Linked DNA regions of Homo sapiens: region 1 is linked to region 2. The links are contacts of gene promoters, found by promoter capture Hi-C in blood cells and fetal thymus (Javierre and others, 2016). All regions are on one chromosome and are shown on one strand. Each heading gives the region's core, a stretch centred on a gene start or on the middle of the fragment in contact. The rest is flanking DNA. Distances are from core to core; before and after follow the strand shown. Region 1 holds the start of NKIRAS1 (NFKB inhibitor interacting Ras like 1). Region 2 overlaps TOP2B (DNA topoisomerase II beta).

Evidence for each region. The method cuts DNA at HindIII sites, captures the fragments that hold promoters and counts their contacts. A CHiCAGO score of 5 or more calls a contact.
Region 1: the fragment with the promoter of NKIRAS1 here is called in contact with a fragment that was not itself captured in region 2 in 1 of 17 cell types (neutrophils); the score reaches 5.8 in neutrophils.

Annotation. Positions count from the first base shown.
Region 1 is chr3:23,913,696-23,918,336 of GRCh38, forward strand. It overlaps NKIRAS1 (NFKB inhibitor interacting Ras like 1), which reads right to left and starts at 3,295. Exons shown (of 5, transcript NM_020345.4): 1 at 3,089-3,295. RPL15 (ribosomal protein L15) reads left to right here and starts at 3,437. Exons shown (of 4, transcript NM_002948.5): 1 at 3,437-3,478; 2 at 4,155-4,336. The coding sequence starts at 4,165. RefSeq lists enhancers at 2,899-3,698, 2,950-4,149, 4,079-4,178. The HindIII fragment of the contact is 19,179 bases long and covers 1-4,641 here.
Region 2 is chr3:25,620,061-25,624,598 of GRCh38, forward strand. It overlaps TOP2B (DNA topoisomerase II beta), which reads right to left. Exons shown (of 36, transcript NM_001330700.2): 20 at 4,237-4,385; 21 at 3,455-3,686; 22 at 622-756; 23 at 1-2. Among named protein-coding and RNA genes, the nearest start is that of TOP2B, 43 kb to the right of the region's middle. The HindIII fragment of the contact is 4,500 bases long and covers 894-4,538 here.

The sequences.
Region 1 (4,641 bases), core at 2,045-4,544, 1.7 Mb before region 2:
TAATAATTCCCAAACACAATAAATGTACACCAGTTCCTGCGAAATATACAAAGGTGGTCATCTGCAGTACCCTGAATGGGCACTGAATCACATGAACCGATCCTGGGGTAACCAAGCCTCTTACTTAAATCTAGGTTTCAAGAATTTGAAAGGCTCTGTAGTACATGGGTCACCTTTAGGTTCCTTTCAACACTGTGATGCCATGATATTAGAAGTTGCTTATCCAGAGAATACATCAACACTGAGGTGAACACAAAAAGCAGTAGTTACAGCTACTTGTCACATCCCTACCCTAAGAAACTGGGCAATAAAATTCAATCTGTGACCTATTAAACCTCACCTGATGTAAATTACTAAGAGAACGTGCTTAATAGGCAAGATTCAGGGCAGTCTTAAATACTTATTGCTTTACTTTCCAGGCTAATCAATAACATTGCTAGAGAATAAATACAACCTCCTCTCTCCAACTTGAGGCTAAAAAAAAAAAAAAACAGAGAGTAAATATATGACCTGGTCCATTCCTGTGAAATGCTTTGTCAACATTTTCTTTGAAGAGCCATCAGAAACAGCTCCCCAAAACCGTTATTGCTTCTGTTCTTCTATGTAAGTGGGCCATTCTATTTTTATAAGTAAAACACAACTTTCTGACGCAACCAGAAAAACAATACCAAAACACTGTTAACATCATAGGAGAGATGTTATAAATCTCTAAAAATACTGTCATGTGGGGAAACCACCTACACTGTGTATTTACTTATGTCAACATTATGTATAGTGTGGAATACTTTCACTTATCCATATATGAATATATTTACATACATAAAAATATATTCAACAGGTTTTGCACACAGTATTGCACAAAATAAAATGTAATAAAGCAGATTCTAGCTTACCATTCTTTTATTCATTTACCAAACATTTACTGAGGGCCTGCCATCATGCCAGCCATCAGGGACAAACTAGGGGGCAAAAACAGAAATCATCCCTTGTCCTCAGGAATCTCAAAATCAACTGGAAACACAAATCCAAATCTTGTAAAACTGTTAACTGAGAAACTACAAATTGAGAAACAAAACTGCAAATGTGATTGATAAATTAGCAGTGATTATTCACACTACTAGAATTGTTTTTCCAAATGATTCATCCAACTTTTTAAATTTTATTTTTACTGCTCCTTTAGGAGCAGGACTACGCCCATAGGCAGCGTACCTACAGTAGCACATTCAACTTTTTAGTCATCCTCACCTTTGAAATACATACAGGGCTGCACTACTTACCATTTTCATCACTACTGAAGTGGTCTGGGTGAGGCACCATGTTCTCTCACCTGGTCTCTCAAAGATATCGTAATCCCCCAAACCTGTGAATATGTTTACTTTACATACTCATACAAGAATTTTGCGGGGGTGATTAAATTAAGAACTTCCATACGAAGATATTATCCTGAATTATCTAGGTGGGCCCAGTGTAATCACAAGTGTCTTTATAAGAGACACACAGGAGTGCTGGAGAGGACAGAAGGTGTAATTGGAAGATGCTCCTTTGCTGGCTGTGAAGATGAAGGAAGCAGTCAGGAGCCAAGGAATTCAGGCAGGCTTCATAAGGTGGAAAAGCCAAGGAAATAAATGTACTCTCCCCTAGTACCTCCAGAAGGAACACAGCCCTACTGACTTTGGTTTTAGCTTGGTGATATTTACAGATTTACAGACCTAGTCTGATGTACAAACTAAAAGACGGTAAATTTGTATTATTAACCAACAAAGTTGCTGAAATTTGTTACAGGAGCAATGGAAGACTAACACAATTTCCTAAGCAGTCTCTCTGCTTCCATTTTTTCTCTCCTTTTAGCCTCAAAAGGAGCAATCCGAGTTATCTTTTTAAAATGTACGCCATATGAAGTCATCCTTCTGTTCAAAATCTGCCAATGAAATCCAAAGTCCATGTGAGAACCTTCACCTCTCCGACGTCATTTCCCACTTTCCCCTACTGTGAATTTCAGCCACACTGCTTCCCTGCTGTTCCTCTATTAATCTTGCATGCTCCAGTCATGGCTCTTCTCCCTCTGCCTGAATCAGACCCCTACTCTTACTCCCAGACTCCTATCCTTGAAGTCCTTTCTTAAATGTTACCTTCTCTCAAAGACTTAACCTGGACACTCCATTCCAAATTGCAACCCTCAGCCGCTAACACTCCCTCATCACTTCCCTCCCCTTATCTTTTTTCCTTAGCATTTACCACCAAACCCAAAACACAGCTTACTTCTGCTTACTGCCCATTTCCAAGAAGGCCAAAAATTCTGCGTTGTTTCCTGCTGCATCCCCAGCAACTATGCCTGGCACATATTAGACACTTAATAAATATTTGTTGAATCAATCAATGAACCAGATAGAGACTCTTAAAAACGTAAAGCTGTGATTTAAAAAGAAAGAAAGAAAAATATGATGTGGGAAAAAAGATAATCAAAACCGCTACGATTAAGAGATAATGATTCTCTTAAGCCTTTGCCACATCTGAACGCATAATCTGGAAGGAAATTAAAGCCACATGACTTAAATTAAAGCCAAGTGAAAATATTCTGGAGAAACAAAGTAAGCCAGTAACCTATTTCTCAATTTAAAAAAAAACCCGCAACGCAAAATGCCAGCATTTTCTCGGCATTTCTTCTCTAAAACATTCACACCTGCCAAACAGGTCTTGGCAAATAAACATTCTGCTCTTCTGAAAAACTGTGGTTCTCATGTTAGCAAATTTGGGACGAAATCCGTATGCAGAAAAAGCGCCGGGCCGCCCGCAATCCACCCACTCCATGACCCTTTTTTAGGACAAAATCCCTGGGCGCTGGGGCCTGCTGGAGGAGCTTCACGCAGTCTGGAGCTGAAGGGACACAGCGAGCGCCCCGACCCGCGACGCCCCGACTCCGCGAAGGCCTCCCTGGGAGGCTGGGGAAGCGTCGGGGGATCTCTCAGCGCAGCTCTGGGGCCCAGATTTCTGCGCCCGTCGTGCGGTGGCCAGAGAGGGACAGCGCAGCGCGGAGACGCGGAGACGCAGAGACTCCGCAGGGGGAGAGCCCGCGGTGCGTGAAACAAACCTGTTCTCTCCTCAGACCTCAAAGACAGCGGCTCCACCGCGGTACGCGGCCACCGGCTTTGGAGCCTGGACCCCAACTTGCCTCCTCTCGCGGAGAGACAGTCGCCGACGCTCGCTTAGCCGCCGAGACCTCGCCGCCAACTCTCTCACCTCTCGAGACGCCCAGGCCGCTCAGGCTCGAATCTTGCGGAGCAGGGGGCGGGACAATAGCGGCCGCGGCGCCCCACTCGGCAGAACTCCGCCACCAGGCGCGATGCCGGAACTACATGTCCCATGACGCTCTGGGAGGCCGCAGCTTTCCACCGGAAAGAGGGTGGCTGAGGTGGGGGAGGAGCCCAAAAGGCATTGTGGGAGTACAGCTCTTTCCTTTCCGTCTGGCGGCAGCCATCAGGTAGGCTGCGTTGAGGATCTTTGCTCTTCCATCCGCCTTTGATCGTCTTCCTCTTCAGCCATCCAGGTCCGGGGACCCTGCGTCCTCGGAGATAGGTCTCCCTCCTGTGCGGCCAGAGTTTGGTCAGGATGCGGGACAGCAAAGGGGTGGAGAGGCGGCCCCCGGGGCGGGTTGAGCGAAGATGTGATGGCGGCGCGAATTCGAGCTGGGCCCGGATCCTGGAGGAGGCGTGGGGCTGACGAATGGGGCGCCCGGGACAAGGCAGCCTAAAGTGAGGCTGCTGGTTGGGTGGGGTAGATGCATTTTCCTCGAGAGTTAATCCTCGGTGGCCGCAGCAGTACCTTGTCCTGTGATGTCAGCGGCATCTCCTTTCAGGTCCTCCTTGGGGACGCCGCCTGCCGCAGCCACCCGCCCCCTTGGTGCTCAGTTCTGGTTCTGTTAATTCGCCCCACCAAAACGTGCCGAGCACCGCTCTGTGCTGGGGTTGCGGAAGTGACTGAACGCGGCTCCGTGGGCGCAGTGGTGGGGGTTGGGCTAGCTGTCCCCGGCAGTTGGTGCAGAGCCATTTTCATTCCCGGCGGTTTCCTTGTTTTTGTTGGGGAACTAAGATGGACGGATACAGTCGTCTTATTGTACTTAAAGCGGATGATATTTAATACACAGTTTGATTTCACAGGTAAGCCAAGATGGGTGCATACAAGTACATCCAGGAGCTATGGAGAAAGAAGCAGTCTGATGTCATGCGCTTTCTTCTGAGGGTCCGCTGCTGGCAGTACCGCCAGCTCTCTGCTCTCCACAGGGCTCCCCGCCCCACCCGGCCTGATAAAGCGCGCCGACTGGGCTACAAGGCCAAGCAAGGTACGTGATCGACTGCGTGGATGCTTGGATAAAATTATATTCGAGAAAAGTTGGAAACCAGCTGTTAGGAAGACACTGCTGCCTCAGTGTCTTTCTTCGCATAGGGCTTTGGCAGAAAAAAGCTAGCAACACTGGTCAGTTACTGTATGCACTGTTGTCTAAAGTGGCAAGTGTGTCAAAGGTTACAAATCTGAATGAGTTCAGACTAAAGCAAAATAAACAGTGTGCCTCCCTGTGTGAGTAGCCTAAGGTGCATTGAAAAAGACTGGGATGTGTTTTATTTTTTTCTATTAGATAGCATTAAC
Region 2 (4,538 bases), core at 1,894-4,393:
ACCTATAAAGATTTAAAAATTAGTGATTCTTTTCATGACACACTCTCATGTTCTCATACTACAAGTCATACAGTCTTGAAAATTCTCAACTCTCATGGGGAATTAAAAAGGAAACCTCAATCTCTATCATCTCCTATCCAATCAGTATAGAAGGCAATACACAGGGATCTCGGTGGTGGGAAAAGACATAAGAAGTAATGGTGCTGACCCACTCATACTCTAAAGGGCAAGATAAAGGCTGAGTATGAAAAGGATGACATCAACTGGAACTGTCAAGAGGTGACATGCATACTTTTAGATTTGTAAAGCTGATGCTGACATGAATTTACTGACCATATTTACAAGAATTAAAAACACTGTCATATTCTACTCCTTTTATTTTAAATAAATACAAAGATAATAGTCTATAAAAGCCTTACCTAACATAAGTCATACTACGCTACTTAGATATAAATACTATTTAAATATTCAAAGCACAAATTCAACTGAAGGGTAAAAGAAGGTACAGGAATTTTTTAACACTACGCACGCTTAGGACCAACAACGGTGGAATCATCCTTACCAGAAAAAATTGCTTAATACACTGCCCTTCCCTCAGGCAGATCACATATTTACACTGACCTGTGTCCAAGTTCTAACTGGAAGCTCTGTAATTTCTACTGTGTTTCTGTCCACTACAAATATTTCACCACTGACTGCATACTGGTTTTGACCAAGTTCTTGAATCGTGCCTTTAAAGTTTTTGTAGTTTGGAAGCTGTAGAGAAAAAGGTAAATAGCATTGACTTCTCTCTTGAGTACCAGTACCATGAGTCTATGGTCTAACATTGACAGATTAACACAACTGAAACAGAATTTCTCATCCTCAATTGTCCCTTTCCAACTGATCAATTAAGCTTGAATTCATAGCTTCTGTTCATACAACCTGAACATCCTCCAATCTCAAAATGTTAGTATCATCTTTCCTAGTCTTCCTAGAACAGTACTTTCTTTCAGCCTACTTCCCCTACACCTACTTCTCTCCTAGATCAATATCCTTTAAATTCAAACTCCTTGGGCCTTACATTGAAAGCATTTCATAGTCTGGACCCAATCTGGCTTTCAATTTTTTCTCTAATGATTTGTCTTACAAAACCACTACTCTTCTCCCATATTTTGTTTGACTATTTTGAATATTCTCACTTTCACTCTATCCACAAGTCCTGACACATATTCAGGCCCAACCCCATTCCATTCATCATTCATCTACATAAATCTTACTCATCCTTCCCAACTGAATTACAAGTCCTCTCTCCCTCTTCTAAGTTTTTATTTGTTTTGAGACAGGGTCTCCACTTTGTCACCCAGGCTGGAGTGCCGTGGCACGATATCAGCTCACTGCAGCCTCAACCACCTGGGCTCAAAGGATCCTCCCACCTCAGCCTCCCAAGTAGCTGGGGTTACAGATGCGTGCCACCATGTCCAGCTAATTTTTGTATTTTTGTAGAGACAGGGTTTTGCCATGTTGCCCAGGCTGGTCTTCAACTCCTGAGCTAGTGATCTGCCCAGCTCAGCCTCCCAAAGTGCTGGGATTATAGACATGAGTCACTGCACCTGGCCTACTCTAAAATTCTTATTCGTTATTATCATTAAGAAATCGAGTATATAGGCCGGGCACAGTGGCTCATGCCTGTAATCCCAGCACTTTGGGAGGCCAAAGCAGGCGGATCACTTGAGGCCAGGAGTTCGAGACCAGCCTGGCCAACACAGTGAAACCCCGTCTCTACTAAAAATACAAAAATTAGACAGGCATGGTGGCGCACACCTGTGGCCCCATCTACTCAGGAGGCTGAGACAGCAGAATCACTTGAACCTGGGAGACAGAGGTTGCAGTGACCCAAGATCACACCACTGTACTCCAGCCTGGGTGACAGAGTGAGACTCTGTCTCAGAAAAAAAAAAAAAGAAAGAAAGAAATTGAGCATATAGCATAGGACATTTCTTCTGGCATACCAAGCAACTATCAATATCGTTTGTCACTGTTAAACTTCAAGCCTTGATGCTTTGATGTCTTGTCTTGACAACTGTTTAACTTTTCAAAGATAAAAACCATAGCTCTTTATCTCACCACTTAGCACAGTTTCATACACATAGTAGGCACATAAGAACCATGTATTGATCAAATACACTATCTTAACAATCTAAAATCCATTTAAAAATCCAAAACCATTTCAGTAAAACACTATCATTAAAAATTTGATGCTTATGTTAGAAATATTTTGAAGTACTTTGAAGTATTTAAGAGAAAAAGCAGAATATATGTCTTATTGCTAAAGAATAACTTTCACTTTAAAATACAAAAATGAAATAAAACTTGGAAAAATACATCAAAATATTGTCTCTATATTGTGGGTTTATGGATTTTTTTACTCTTTGCTTACCTATATTTTCTACAATAAACATTATCATTTTGGTAATAAAAATACACTTTTCTCCAGGTAATTTTAAATCATGGGGAGGAAGGAAGGACATTTTTCTTGGAGGAGGTCTGAGCAGAGTGAATGATACAAGAAAACAACAAACATAAAAAAAAAATGGGGATTTTTTTTTTTTTTTTTGGGAGACGGAGTCTCATTCTGTTCCCCAAGCTGGAGTACAGTGGCGCAATCTCGGCTCACCGCAACCTCCACCTCCTGGGTTCAAGCGATTCTCCTGCCTCTGCCTCCCAAGTAGCTGGGATTACAGGTGCCCTCCAGCACACCCGGCTAATTTTTGTATTTTTAGTAGAGACAGGGTTCTACCTGGTTTGGTCAGGCTGGCCTAGAACTCCTGACCTCAGGTGATCCACCCACCTCGGCCTCCAAAGTGCTGGGATTACAGGCGTGAGCCTGAGCAACACCTAATTTTTTTTGTATATTTAGTAGAGATGGAGTTTCCCCATGTTGGTCAGTCTGGTCTCGAACTCCTGACCTCAGGTGATCCATATGCCTTGGCCTCCCAAAGTGCTGGAATTACAGGTGTGAGCCACCACGCCCAGCCTTGGGGATATATTAAAATATATACAAGGTAGTTTGTTTTCTGTCTTTTTACAAATGGTACACTAATGAATACAATGTGTTTTTAAGCATCCTTACAAACTATTAAGCGGTAGTTTGAGAACAGAAACAAGGTTACACATAATTTTATCAGAAAAGGATTGTTTTCTAATAATATAGGGTTTAGAGGTTTGAAAACCTGGAATATGAGGTGTTTCTAAATTTAAATAAACAGTTTCTCCCCATGAAACTTACCTCCAAAACTCATTCCAAAGTTTATACTTTTTACTGTAGGCACATATCAAATTATACCCTAATTAGGTCTTTACGGTCTACAATATGTTCTAAAATAAAAATGTTCCATTACTTTTCTAAAATGACGGGAATTTGTAGTTTACACATTATCATTTGTTAAATAAATAATAAGTTCCAAATAATTACCATGGGATGAGGATCCAGGCCATCTAGCATTCGTCTGACATTGTTCACAATTTCCCTAGCATCATAGTTGGGTAGTTTACAAGCCCATCCAGTACCAATGCCCTCAGCACCATTTATTAAAACCATGGGAATTATAGGAATATACCACTCAGGCTCTACACGTTGATTATCATCATAAAGGAACTTAAGGAGGTTGTCATCCACAGCAGGAAAAAGTAGCCTTGCTAAAGTGCTAATGAAAACAAAAAGAAGCAAATGAAAAAATGTCATGGCTTTGGGAAAGAAAACTTTATACATAATTAAAAACTTCACACTGCAAAAACAAATCTTTTGAAGAGAATGCATTTTTAATAATTTTGATTACATCCGCTTAATAATAAAATTTGCCTAACTGTATTATTCAAATGCATCTTTCTCTCAGTTACAAGCCCAGAATAAAATAGTCCTATTTTACTTATGTACTTACCTACCTGATTTAATATTGATAACTTTTAAAGAATTTCCTATTACTCTAAATAAAGTACATAACCCATCTTCAGCCTAAAGAGTAAAGTTGGTGAGAAAAACATCCTTAATTCACTAGGACTGATTTCACCAACAATTCATAAAAATTAAGGTCAACAGACTTCATTCTATTTGTGGTCAAATAATTTGGAACATTCACCTTCTAAGTAGAATAACCAGATAATCACATCTCTCCACAGCTATAATTCCATCGAACATTTAGTTAGTTGGTTCCAAATCAAATCAAACTTTATACCATTATATCAGCAAATATTTACCTTAACATTGTGAAAATATAACGAGGGCTTGCAGCATCTTTGCCACCATGAAGCCGAGTTCCAAACTGACCAATAGGCTGAAGCAAGTTAATGTTGTTACTTCCCACAAAGTTCTGAGCCAAATTCACAATAGTCATCATCAATGCTTGCTATACAACAGAAGAAGGCAGAACATAACATTAATATTCTAAATTTTCTATAATTACTCCCCAACTTGAATTAAAATCCAAGTGAAGAATAAAGGCTTTAGAATCTCACTAATCTGTATATTCTCTTAATTCTTTTACATTTCCAAAGACTTT